Regions from separate parts of the Homo sapiens genome. Here region 2 is linked to region 1. The links are contacts of gene promoters, found by promoter capture Hi-C in blood cells and fetal thymus (Javierre and others, 2016). All regions are on one chromosome and are shown on one strand. The core of a region is centred on a gene start or on the middle of the fragment in contact, and the rest is flanking DNA. Distances in the headings are between cores, read along the strand shown. Region 1 holds the start of RPS4X (ribosomal protein S4 X-linked). Region 2 holds the start of RLIM (ring finger protein, LIM domain interacting).

Evidence for each region. The method cuts DNA at HindIII sites, captures the fragments that hold promoters and counts their contacts. A CHiCAGO score of 5 or more calls a contact.
Region 2: the fragment with the promoter of RLIM here is called in contact with the fragment with the promoter of RPS4X in region 1 in 1 of 17 cell types (total CD4 T cells); the score reaches 7.1 in total CD4 T cells.

The regions. Positions count from the first base shown.
Region 1 is chrX:72,273,780-72,280,103 of GRCh38, reverse strand. RPS4X (ribosomal protein S4 X-linked) reads left to right here and starts at 2,856. Exons shown (of 7, transcript NM_001007.5): 1 at 2,856-2,911; 2 at 3,870-3,947; 3 at 4,380-4,560; 4 at 4,954-5,051; 5 at 6,132-6,303. The coding sequence starts at 2,909. RefSeq lists enhancers at 3,037-3,106, 3,277-3,356. The HindIII fragment of the contact is 11,342 bases long and covers 1-6,324 here.
Region 2 is chrX:74,612,311-74,618,634 of GRCh38, reverse strand. RLIM (ring finger protein, LIM domain interacting) reads left to right here and starts at 4,011. Exons shown (of 4, transcript NM_016120.4): 1 at 4,011-4,213. RefSeq lists an enhancer at 4,087-4,406. The HindIII fragment of the contact is 9,843 bases long and covers 1-5,774 here.

The sequences.
Region 1 (6,324 bases), core at 1,607-4,106:
GAGTAAGCACTCAATAAGTGTTGGTTGAAGGAATAGATTTATTCTAAGGAAAATATTCAACTGAAGGAAAAAGCTGTTCACTGTAGCAACACGCATAATAGAGAAAAAGTACAGAAAACTAAATGTCCAACAACAGAGAACTTGTATTAATTGTGGGACATCCACTTAATGGAATATGATACAGCTGTTAAAGTAGTAATTATGAGGATTATGCAGCAACTTGGAAAGTGTTTCTAATATAATAAAAACAGAATACAAAATGGTCTGTATGCTAGGACTAAAATTATGTAAAAGTATGCATGCACACAAGCCGATCAGAAAGAGAACAGGAAGAGGAACAAATGAATACAGATGATGTGTTTAGGGTGTTTGGGGAGGTACTGTTTGCGATTTACTTAGCTCTTTCCAAATTTCCTTTATTGTTGTTAGAATGTCATTTGTGCATAAATACAAATTGAGAGAGAGAAATATACTGAAAAAGATGCTTTGATTTCCTCAAGTCCTTTGATAACCTATGGCATAAAAACAAACCACTCACCTGGGAGGCAAGAGACAAGTCCCCTCATCCCCAAACGGGCTGTGTGATCTTGATTAAGTGAGATCTGCAGCTCTAACCAGCCATTTCTCCTATCCTCTCTAGCTGGAAAGCACATGGTTATCCCCCCACTCCCACAGCAACTTCTCCACCATTTCTGTTAATTGTACCACCATCTTCCCAGTGCTCTCAGATTAAAAACCTCAGAACCAACTTCCATTATCTCATCACCTTCACCTTCTCTCTACTCCTCACCTCCAATTAATCGATCCTTTCCAATAATCACTTATAACATGCTTTATTGTGGATTGTATCCCAGTTTTAGACAAGGAGGAGTTCCTGCCCTCTTAGTTAATACTGTCTGCTTGGTTAATACTGTCTGCTTGAGAAGAGCCAACAATGTTTCCCTCTCTTGCTCCTCTGCAGACTGCTGAGGGGTAAAGTGGATGGTACAGATAGAGACTTGTGAAATGGAACCTCATGAGTTAGGAGCTTGATCTCATGGTGGGAAGAATTCAGGCACAGGCTGGATGCTCTCAGGGATAGTACAGTAGGACTTGGCACAATAAGTGGGATGCTGACTCCGTTTATTCATTCAACAAGTATTTATCAAGTGCTGGACACAGTGCCGAGCTCTCTGTTCAGTGGCAAGGGGCCTGCCCAGATGAATTAGGGCAGGCTCCATCCTGGAGGTGCTCAGTTTGGTGGAGGCCAGGTAACTAAATTTGTCCTTGCTACCTAATGTGCTGTGTGCCCTCACCAAGTTTGAACACAAGCCTCTGGGGCAAGAATGAGGGATTTACCCTGACTGAGGGGACCACGAGCCCACAGAACCAGAGGGACTTGAACTGTGCATTTCCAAGGCTGAGGTGTGGGATTAGGTGGTACCCAGGAAGGGGGTTTGGCTGTTTGTGGCAGTTCCAAGCTAAGGAATCGAGTCCACAAGCAGTCTTGAAAGAGCTGACTCTAGCCAGGCGCAGTGGCTCAGGCCTGTAATCCCAGCACTTTGGGAGGTCGAGGCGGGCGGATCGCTTGAGTCCAGGAGTTTGAGACCAGCCTAGGTAACATGGCGAAACCCCGTCTCTACAAAAAAATAAAACTACAAAAAATTAGTTGGGTGCAGTGGCGTGCGCCTGTTGTCCCAGCTACTCGTGGGGGCTGAAGTGAGAGGATCGCTTGAGCCCGGGCTGTCTGTCGAGGCTGCAGTGAGCCATGCACTACAGCCTGGGTGACAGAGTGAGACCCTGTCTCCCAAACAAACAAACAAAAAGAGCTGACTCCCTCGGAACAAACTAGCTTGGTGGGGCTTGAGCTTTGAAGTTTGGGATTGGGGAGAGAGAGCAATGGAGCCAGATAAAGTTCAGACCTGCTCCCTTACGGCAGGAAACAGAGGGCCAAGGGCAGTTTCGAAGCAGGATCAGATCTACATTTTAGTTAGATATAACCAGACGATTTCTAATATCCTCTCTCCTCCCTGAGTCTCTATAAGTGCCAAATGCGTTGTACAGGAAGCAAGGGGGAGGATGTCAGAGTTCAAGCAGAGAAGCAAGAGGGGGTTAAAAACGTTGTTGGCTCTTCCCAACTCAGTATGGGCTGCCTGGCTGGCTCAAGGGAACACAAAAAAGGGACAGACAAAATACGTTTAAGAAATAACATTAAATATTTATTAAAATGTATTCTATTGATTATATACAAGTTCTTTGTTTTGTTTTGTTTTGTTTTGTTTTTGAGACGGAGTCTCGCTCTGTCGCCCAGGCTGGAGTGCAGTGGCGCGATCTCGGCTCACTGCAAGCTCCACCTCCGGGGTTCACGCCATTCTCCTGCCTCAGCTTCCCGAGTAGCTGGGACTACAGGCGCCCGCCACTATGCCCGGCTAATTTTTTTGTATTTTTTTTTAGTATAGACGGGGTTTCACTGTGTTAGCCAGGATGGTCTCGATCTCCTGACCTCATGATCCGCCCGCCTCGGCCTCCCAAAGTGCTGGGATTACAGGCGTAGAATCATCTGTACGTGAGACTGGAAGTAAGCTCACTTTGAACTCTCCTTGAGGCCAGGGATGTTGTGTAGCTCATCTTTGTATTCCCAGCACCTAGCACAGAATAAGGCACACAAGAGGCGCTCAGCAAATATGGGAGGAGGAAGGGCGGAAAAAGGGGAGGGAGGAAATCGCCCTTAGGAGACACCCTCTTTCCGCGGCGGTTCCTCAACTCGGGACTTCTGACCTCCCACCAGCAGATGGCAAGAAAGAGTCCCGGCGCGCCAGCAAAGGGCTGAGCTGGGCGGAGCAGCTGAAAATCCGGCGCGCGCAGTCTCCAGCCCCAATTTCTACGCGCACCGGAAGACGGAGGTCCTCTTTCCTTGCCTAACGCAGCCATGGTAAGCCGTTTAGTTAGCGAGCTCTTAGGACGTATCCGCCTCCATCCTCCCCCGGCCGGGGCTGCCCGAGGTTTCGGGATTCCTACTGGGGATGGCCGGGCAGAGGCGAAGGGATCACGGCCTCCGTGGTAGGCCGGGACGGGCTCCAGGGCGAAGGGCGAACGCTGGCCTAGGGTTGGGGAGGCGCAGATCTGGTGCTGCTGTTGGGAAGGCCTCGGTTTCTGACCCGGCCATACGTCCTGATCCCGGGAGAAGCTGCTTTTCCTCCCGGGCCGGAGCCGCGGCTGGGCCAGGAGCTCAGACTGCGAGCCCGAGGTTGGTGGGCGCTGGGGGTGCCCGGCGGAGAAAGGTTTTCTTTGTCATTGCCTTTTTGGCACGGCCTGACTTTACCATACGTGGCCGGTAAGCATCTGGACACAGCATTAAAAAGGCTTCCTTACTCTTTTTAAAGTAAAATTGGTGTCAGCTTTTGGCTTTAGTGTACGAAGGAGCAGCACATGTGTTTGTGCGGATGTCAGAATCTTGTTCCATACGTGTCAAAAACAGACGGTAATAAATTGTGAAAACTTTAGAAACACAGGTAGACTCCTGGCTCATTTCTGTTGCTGTGCGTTTCACTAGTATGGTGTTCTTGAAAGACCCTAACCTCTAAGCAGATACAGTTTCAAACAGTAACATGGAAACACTTTAGCAAGGTTCTGAAAGATAGTAATCAGTAAACGTTCTGAAACATAGTAACCAAGAATATTCTCTGTTACAATAAGAAGGCTTGTTGCAGCTTATGGATCTCACGGTGTTTGTTAAATAACTGTGTTTGTTTCTGTTTTATCGGAACACTATACTTTAATATTGTCCACATTTTGCTGAAGATGAAACTAAACTAAGAGTTTAGTTTCACACTAGGTTTTATAAGCTGTTCTGAAACCTGATTAACAGCATTGCAATCTAAAACTTTCAGGCTCGTGGTCCCAAGAAGCATCTGAAGCGGGTGGCAGCTCCAAAGCATTGGATGCTGGATAAATTGACCGGTGTGTTTGTAAGTATCTTATATAAATATTTCCGTGGCCACTGTTTTTAAGTGTCTCCCAGGACTCATTTGGGGACCAGGCTAGGGGAGGAATATCTATTCTTGGCTTCCTCTGCCCTTGAAGGAGCTATACTATCTAGCTGTCCTCCACTTCCAATCGATTTAATATTTTTGTGCCTCATTTATTCCACATACCACATAGTACATTTACATGGACTCAGGATTCATGTTCTTAATGATCCTGGTCCTCTGACAGGGAAGATGCTATAAAACTTTAAGGTATGAAATAGTTTTGGATGCTTTTTACACCTCCTGTGTAAAAGTCCAAGTTGGGTGTAATATGGACGGTCTTGGTGTTCAGTTAGTGGATCTGGTGGACTAGGAGGTAGGTTTGAGTGCTTTAGTGAATCCCAACAGTGATTATCATTTTTAACGTTACAGGCTCCTCGTCCATCCACCGGTCCCCACAAGTTGAGAGAGTGTCTCCCCCTCATCATTTTCCTGAGGAACAGACTTAAGTATGCCCTGACAGGAGATGAAGTAAAGAAGATTTGCATGCAGCGGTTCATTAAAATCGATGGCAAGGTCCGAACTGATATAACCTACCCTGCTGGATTCATGGGTAAGAAGTTTTAAATACTCTGGAGACGCATATTGATGGCAGCCCTATGGTATCCAAATACTGTCTTGATCATTTTTCTAACCTTTGTAATCTGTCAAGTCTCAGAAACAAAGCCTGACCTTCCCTCTGTTTTTTACTTAAATAAAAAACATGCAAATAATCATGAAACGCTTTTCAAAACTAAATTTCGATTCACTTTTAAATTTTACATGCAGTCATGGGGTTTTGAAATATTGAAGATCTGGCCGTGATCTTTAATCTTCAGAATCCTTGTTGGATTAGAACTGGGAGGCACATGGGGGTTCTTTTTGTTTCGTAGAGAGCTATGGTTGTTGCTCGGCATGAGGTAGTGGGGATCACTGTATGTAGTAACCGGTTACTGCTTGATTTCAGATGTCATCAGCATTGACAAGACGGGAGAGAATTTCCGTCTGATCTATGACACCAAGGGTCGCTTTGCTGTACATCGTATTACACCTGAGGAGGCCAAGGTGAGTGTGGCAAGCAAGCTGGGTCTTTACTCAGTATAGTTACTTTGTTCTAAGGGCCTGCATTGAGTACGAGTGCTGCTTGCAATGAGGTGGGTATTGATTAGTTAAAATCTCATACCTGGAAATATCTAGCTAACAATTCGATGAGATTCTGTCTTACATGTAACTTTTTGTCATGTTATTAAAAGTCTGGCTGATAGCTGTAGGGCATTGATGGATACCTAAAATTGGCCCCCATTTGAAGTTAACTTCCTCAGCAGATTTTCTTTTTTTGTGGTAGAAATGAATTCCAGTTGAACCGCGACTTCCTGGTGTCTCTTAAGAGTCAAGGAGAATGATTTCTGGGAACTTGTTTATTGGGTACCTGACGTAGGAGCCCTTTGCCATGTCTCCATTTGTGGGAGTAGCTTTACTTTGGGGAGGGGAAGGTGTCGATGGAGGAAACAGACAGTCCTTGAGGCACTAGTTTGAGGTTTAAAAAAAGATTACAGTCTTTGATTATTTAATCCAGTTTGTTTTGATGGTTTTACACAAAAGTTTAGGGCTGTTTGGATTATTGGCTGTAAATGAAGGTTAATTTAATTGACTGATGTGGCTCCTAATTTCCTTTTGCACAGCCTTGTTAACAGCAGACTGGAGGGCACGTCCAGTGGGATCTGTGATTATTTGATTTACTTCAAGGATATCAGGGAGTAGAGATCCAAAATTGAAATGCTATGTGAAGTATTTGTTGATTGGATGAACTGGTAATGTAATTGCTGTTTGTGAGACAAAACTCAGTCGTGATGTACAGGGAGCCATTAAGATAAAGTTGAGTTGAAGGGAAGAATTCCCAGGGCCCCATAAGGCTTAAAGAGCCTGGGAAACTGGAGTGGCATTTACATTGGAGGAGTGGAGGGCAATGGTGGATGTTAGGAGGACGAGCCTAGAGAAGGGCTTTATGCAACATACACTTGAGGGTGGAAAGAACGATCAGCGTCACAATTAATCTGCAGCAGTTAGGGAACCCATGGTTCCTGTATAGGGTTAAAAAGTACATGTGAGATGGATTGAATGTGGCTAACCCTTGTATTTTTCTAGTACAAGTTGTGCAAAGTGAGAAAGATCTTTGTGGGCACAAAAGGAATCCCTCATCTGGTGACTCATGATGCCCGCACCATCCGCTACCCCGATCCCCTCATCAAGGTGAATGATACCATTCAGATTGATTTGGAGACTGGCAAGATTACTGATTTCATCAAGTTCGACACTGGTAAGCATCCTCTGTGCTACC
Region 2 (6,324 bases), core at 2,762-5,261, 2.3 Mb before region 1:
TCAAATACTATGAATATGAGTCTTTTGAAACACATTACCAAATTGCCTTAAGAAAACTGGGAGTGGTGGCTCATGCCTGTAATCCCAGCACTTTGGGAGGCTGAGGTGGGCGGATCACAAGGTCAAGAGATCGAGACCATCCTATCCAACATGGCGAAAATCCGTCTCTAATAAAACTACAAAAATTAGCTGGGTGTGGTGGCGCACGCCTGTAATCCCAGCTACTCGGGGGGCTGAGGCAGGAGAATTGCTTGCACCCAGGAGGTGGAGGTTGCGGTGAGCCGACATTGCGCCACTGCACTCCAGCCTGGTGACAGAGTGAGACTCTGTCTCAAAAAAAAAAAAAAAAAGAAAACTGATATCAATTTGTCCCACTGGCAATACAAATGTGCCCATTTCATAGGATCTTCATCAACAATTAATATTATCGATTTTTTATCCTTGACATTCTAACAGGCAAAAAAAGGAACTTTTTAAAAAATTTTTTAGTTCATAAAATTTTTCTGTTTTGTTTTTTTGAGACAGAGTTTCACTCTTGTTGCCCAGGCTGGAGTGCAATGTCGCAATCTCGGCTCACTGCAACCTCTGCCTCCCGGTTCAAGCGATTCTCCTGCCTCAGCCTCCCGAGTAGCTGGGATTATAGGTGCCCACCACCACGCCCAACTAATTTTTTTTCTGAAGTTTTAGTAGATACGGGGTTTCACCATGTTGGCCAGGCTGGTCTCAAACTCCTGACCTCAGGCAATCCACCCGCCTCAGCCTCCCAAAGTGCTGGGATTACAGGCGTGAGCCACCGAACCCAGCTATTGTTTTTTAATTATTATGGATACATAATAGTTGTACCTCATTGTTTTTATTTTTGATTAATTACTAGTGAGGCTGAATATATTTTCAAGTACAAGGTTATTTACTAACAAGAAAAAAAGAATATATTGTCATATGCTTATCAGCCACGTGTTTTATCCTTTTATGAATTATCCATTCATGTTCCTTGCACATTTTGAAATGGAGGTATTTATCTCTTTTTTTTTTTTTTTTTTTTTTGAGATGCAGTCTTGCTGTTACCCAGGCTGGAGTGCAGTGGCATGATCTCGGCTCACTCCAACCTCTGCCTCCCGGGTTCAATCAATTCCTTTTCCTCAGCCTCCCAAGTAGCTGGGACTACAGGAGTGAGTACGCCACCACGCCCAGCTAATTTTTGTATTTTTTTTAGTAGAGACGGGGTTTCACCATATTGGCCAGGCTGGTCTTGATCTCCTGACCTTGTGATCCGCCTGCCTTGGCCTCCCAAAGTGCTGGGATTACAGGTGTGAGCCCCTGCGCCCGGCCGGTATTTATCTTTTTAAAAATCAATGTTTAACAACTCTTTATAGGCTGATATTAGCCATATGTGTTTATCACATATGTAACATTTTTGCTAGTGTTTCGTCTTTTTATTAAGTAAAGATATTACCCCTTGGCTCTAATATGTCATTATGAAATGATTTTTTTCAATTTATCATTTGTCTTTTAACTTTACCAACCTTGTATTTTGACATTTAGAAGGTTTACTTTTATTTATGAAGTTGTACTTATTAGTCTTTCCCATTATGGATTTTGTGTTGTATTTCAAAAGTGCTTCTGCATCCCCAAGGCTATAGAAATATTAACCTAGGCCTGGACAGTGGCTCACGCCTGTAATCCCAACACTTTGGGAGGCCCAGGCAGGCGGATCATGAAGTCAGGAGTTGGAGACCAGGCTGCCCAACATGGTGAAACCTCATCTCTACTAAAAATACAAAAATTAGCCAGGCGTGGTGGTGCATGCCTGCAATCCCAGCTACTGGGGAGGCTGAGGTAGGAGAATCGCTTGAACCCAGGAGACGGAGGTTGCAGTGAGCTGAGATCATGCCACTGGACTCCAGCCTGGGCAACAAAGCAAGACTCCATCAAAAAAAAAAAAGAAAGAAAGAAGGAAGGAAGGAAGGAAGGAAGGAAGGAAGGAAGGAAGGAAGGAAGGAAGAAAGGACAGAAATAGTAACCTGTATTTTCTTCCACTTCTTTTATGATTTTATATTTTAGATTAAGCCACATAAGCCTCAAGAATACGTTAAGGAGTGGCTAATGTTATTGCCATAATCAGAATATCAGGCTTAATGGCAATTGCAGGCTACTGAAGAATTCCTTTTACACGTTCTAGGTAATCGTTCTAGTACATGATTATGTAAAATAAGACAAAAACCTGAGTAGAGACACAGCGCCTAAATCATGTATCCCTCTGCCAAAAATGACAATATCAATGAGTCTTCTAGGGAGTTGGGCAGGTAAGTATGAGGGATATTGTTTTAACTGCTTGGAGTGAAATACTTATATTCCAGGCTGATATAACATCCATCATGGTGAGGGGGTAATTCTCCCAAAGTATTTTGAGGGCTTACTATGTGGTCGCTGGGGACACAACAGTGAACAAAACAGAGAGGTTTACTGCTCAGAAAGGGTGAAGTAAACAAACAAATAAATAACTTACTTTCAGATTAAGTGTTTTACAAGAAAAGTAAGCAGGTAAGGAGATGGGAGAAGTCGTTATTACTTTTTTCTTTTTTTTTTTTTCCTCAGACCTTTTTCCGCCTTCAGGAAGAAGTTATTTTAGGTAGGGTGGTCAGGGAAGGCTTCTCTAGGAAGTTAATAATTGCGAGGCTTGGATGATGAAAGCAAAGATATGAAAGTAAAATATTCCAGCAAAGGTAAAGTAGTTGAAGTAGGAAGAAGTTAGCTTTGTTGGAAAAACCGTAACAAAGCCAGCATAGCTGGCATGCTATTGGAAAACAGAAAAATTGGGAAAAGGAAAAGAATCTAAAAACTTGGGTAAGGTTTTCCTTTAACTGTGACAATGGGAGTGGCATGCTGTGTGGCGAGTTCCCTCAATTCTTTCAGGCATTACTACCTAAGAAAGGCCTTCTTTAACTGCCCTTTTACAAATCCCAACGTTATCAGATTTTCCCACCCTTTTACAATCACCGCCCTTTTTCGAATACTTTAGAGTTAATGCCTCAAAGTTATCAGTCTTTTAAACATCACGAATCCGTTTGTCCCTACAAGGAACTCTTCTGTCCCCCTTCCTTGATTTTTCTCCTTGGCATTTATCACTAACATGATATGTATTTATGTTTGATTTTTTCTAAATTATTGTCCCTGGCCCCTATAAAGACTCAAGAGAACTGGGATTTTGATCTGTTTTCTTTTTTTTTTTTTTTTTTTTTTTGAGACACAGCCTTGCTCTGTCACCCAGGCTAGAGTGCAGTGGCGAGATCCCGGCTCACTGCAATCTTCGCCTCCTGGGTTCAGCTATTCTCCTGCCTCAGCCTCCCGATTAGCAGAGATTACAGGCGCCCGCCACCACGCCCGGCTAATTTTCGTATTTTTAGTAGAGACTGGGTTTCACCATGTTGGCCAGGCTGGTCTCGAACTCCTGACCTCAGGTGATCCGCCCGCTTCGGCTTCCCAAAGTGCTGGGATTACAGGCGTGAGCCACCGAACGTGGCCTGTTTTCTTTCTTAATTTTGGTCTATTTTAATTTCCTAAGCAGCTACAATGGTGCTTGACATGCAGTTGGCACTGTGTAAATACATGTTGAATAAAACGCAGGCTACTTTTTGAACTGGTCTGCACGGATTGTGTGAACTGATGTGATGTCAGGGTAGACTAATATCACATTTCTCTCTCTCTGAAAATGTCTTCAAGCAGTCAGACCGTGACGTCCTTCAGTTTTCAAAATGGGAAAGCGAAGGTTCCCACAATTCTCAGAACGCAAATTTCTCGCCACAATTCAAAATGGCGGAGGAGGGTGGGGCCTGTCACATGGTGGGCGTCATAACAGCTTTCCTTTTCCAAACCGCCGCCCGCCTTGCCGCGTCGTCTGCCGTCCCCCTCCTCCTCCCGCGGAGCCTTTTCGAGGAATCGACTGGGATTGGCTAATAGGCTGGGAGTGGGGCTGCGGTGCCGGGACGCGGCATCATCACTTCCTGTTGTGGGCAGTCGTTTCCTGTCGCTGCTTGGTAACAATGGGGAAGATAATGGCTGCCTGAGCAACGTCTCCGAGCAGGCGCTGGGCTAGAGGCGGGTCTCAACCAGCTACTCATTGGAGGCGGGCTTGAGAGCGGCGGCCAGGGAGGTGCGGAGCAGCCTCGGCGGCGGCGGCCGAACCAACCGAGTCGGATCCTGACCCTAAAACCTAGTAAGTGAAGACTTGGGAATCCTGTGAGAAATGATGTAGAGCGAGAGGAAGACAGCGGAGCCGCGGCTGCCGCGTTCTCTCAAAATGGCCCGAGTGACGCGTCGTGGCAGAGGCTCAGCGCCGCCTCCGGACCCCAGGCCCGTTGCTGCGGGGGGCTCCGTGGCGTAGTCGCCGCTGCCATTTTAGTTGAGTGGTATAGTCGACAGGCTCTTTGAAGGGGAAGGAGGTGGGTAGTACTTCCTCTCGGTGGCCGCGCGAGCTGCAGCCCAGGCCCTCCGGAGCCTTAGGAAATCGGGGGAGGCAGTTTTTGAGTTTTGGCCTCAGGCGTCAGAATCTTAGAACGTCTCAGGCTTTTTCTTCTCTGTTCTCTGGAGGCTTCCCTGACCTCCCCGCGTTTTCCATGGCGGGCTTGGGTTTGGGAAAAGGGAAGTAAAAAATCAGGCTGCCCCAAGTGAGATGCTGGCAACTCTTGGGCCTTTAGATTTCCAAAACCTCATTTTGAGCCCTTCTGCAGGGTATTACCAATTAGGCGCCCCCTGGGGCCGCGATGACATCTTCCCTGAGGATCTGAGGCAAATGTGGTTTACTCCCTTGCTCGAATAACCCTGGCATATCCTTTGCCAGGTATCACTGGAAGGATCCCCCCGCAAAAGAGAGGGAAAAGCCGTTAGGTGTTTGTTGTGTTCTCCTGGATAAGGGATGGAATTGGGCCAAATTTTCAAGTTAATTTGTGTTTAATCCACCAACAACTCAATCCCTCCCCCATTAAAAAAAAAAAAAAAAGCCTAGGGGGGTCTCTGCTTCTGCAGACGGTACCTGCCACGCATGCCATAGCTTAGTAACTAGTATTAACCGGTTGGGCTTCTGCTTCCTGAATACTCGGTCCCTTTTTCCCTTATGCTGATTAATTTCAAGATGGAGGAGACAGCCACGTTCCTTCCCTAGACAGTTTCACCATACTTATTCCACAGGTTAGTCTGGGAATCTGAGGCCTAGCAGTCTTGTTATTGAGGTCATTTTTTTTTTCATTTTGGGGCAAGAGGAAGCAGTTGTATCAGATTGTCATCTTCCATTTGCAAGACCCCACAATGATTTTTTGCCAGAAGTAAGGAGCCCGCATTTCCTGAATCAGAATTAACCGCAGTGTTTTGGACTGATTGAAAGGGGGAAGAAATAATAAACCTACTGCTACTAATCATTTCTTTCATTCTTCGTGATTATAGACAGAGTAACTACTTATCACCCCATTAAGTACATTGTATCTTCCCTGGAGGACTGGCACAATTATAACCCCTCCCCCCCCATGACTTTTCTAAACTGTAGAAATATAGCTTAGGTAGCTAGAAAGACCAATCCACTTTTTAAAACTTGATTTTAGGACACACTCCACTTACTGAAAAATGTTACAAAGATTTTTTTAGTCCATGATGTTCTGATGAATTTTAATACTTTAGTTCCTACCTTAGGCTAGTGTAATGTGCCAGATAAGTCCTTGAAAGTGACTATCAGAATCTGAAAATAATTACTGGTCTGATAAGGAAAGGCTTATTTTAAGCAAGCTTATAATAAAACGTAAATTGTCTCTCAGTCTTAGAAGACATCTTTTATCTAACTCCTGGTCCCCTCTGACCTTCTTGCTCTCCCCAAATGCCCTAATACTAATATTGAATTAGGTTGGGTTATGGTGTGTCTGTATTTTTTTTTTTAGGTTGTGTCTAATTCAAAGAAAATGTGTATCTTTTTAAAGAGGAAGAATAATGGATTCTTTTTTTTTCTAGAGCAGAGTGAAGAAAACTAAAATCCAGTTTATTGTATTTCAATACTATGTCATAACAGTCAGGTAATTTATTTTTTGTTGCGTCTCCTGATGATTTATGTGTAGAATGCATGTTTACAAATATTTATTGTTCTATTTTGCAGGCCCTGTAATTGGATGGGCTCATTGATAGATGTTAGATGGTGTTGGGTATTCTTCATGATAAGAATGGGTACTTTTCACTGGGAATTAAAAGGGTAATGTTTCTGGATACCTGGAACTCACCAGTGCTTTATCTGTGAATTTGACTCTTTAAAATAATGTCTGAAGTTTACCAATACCTGTATAGAACAAC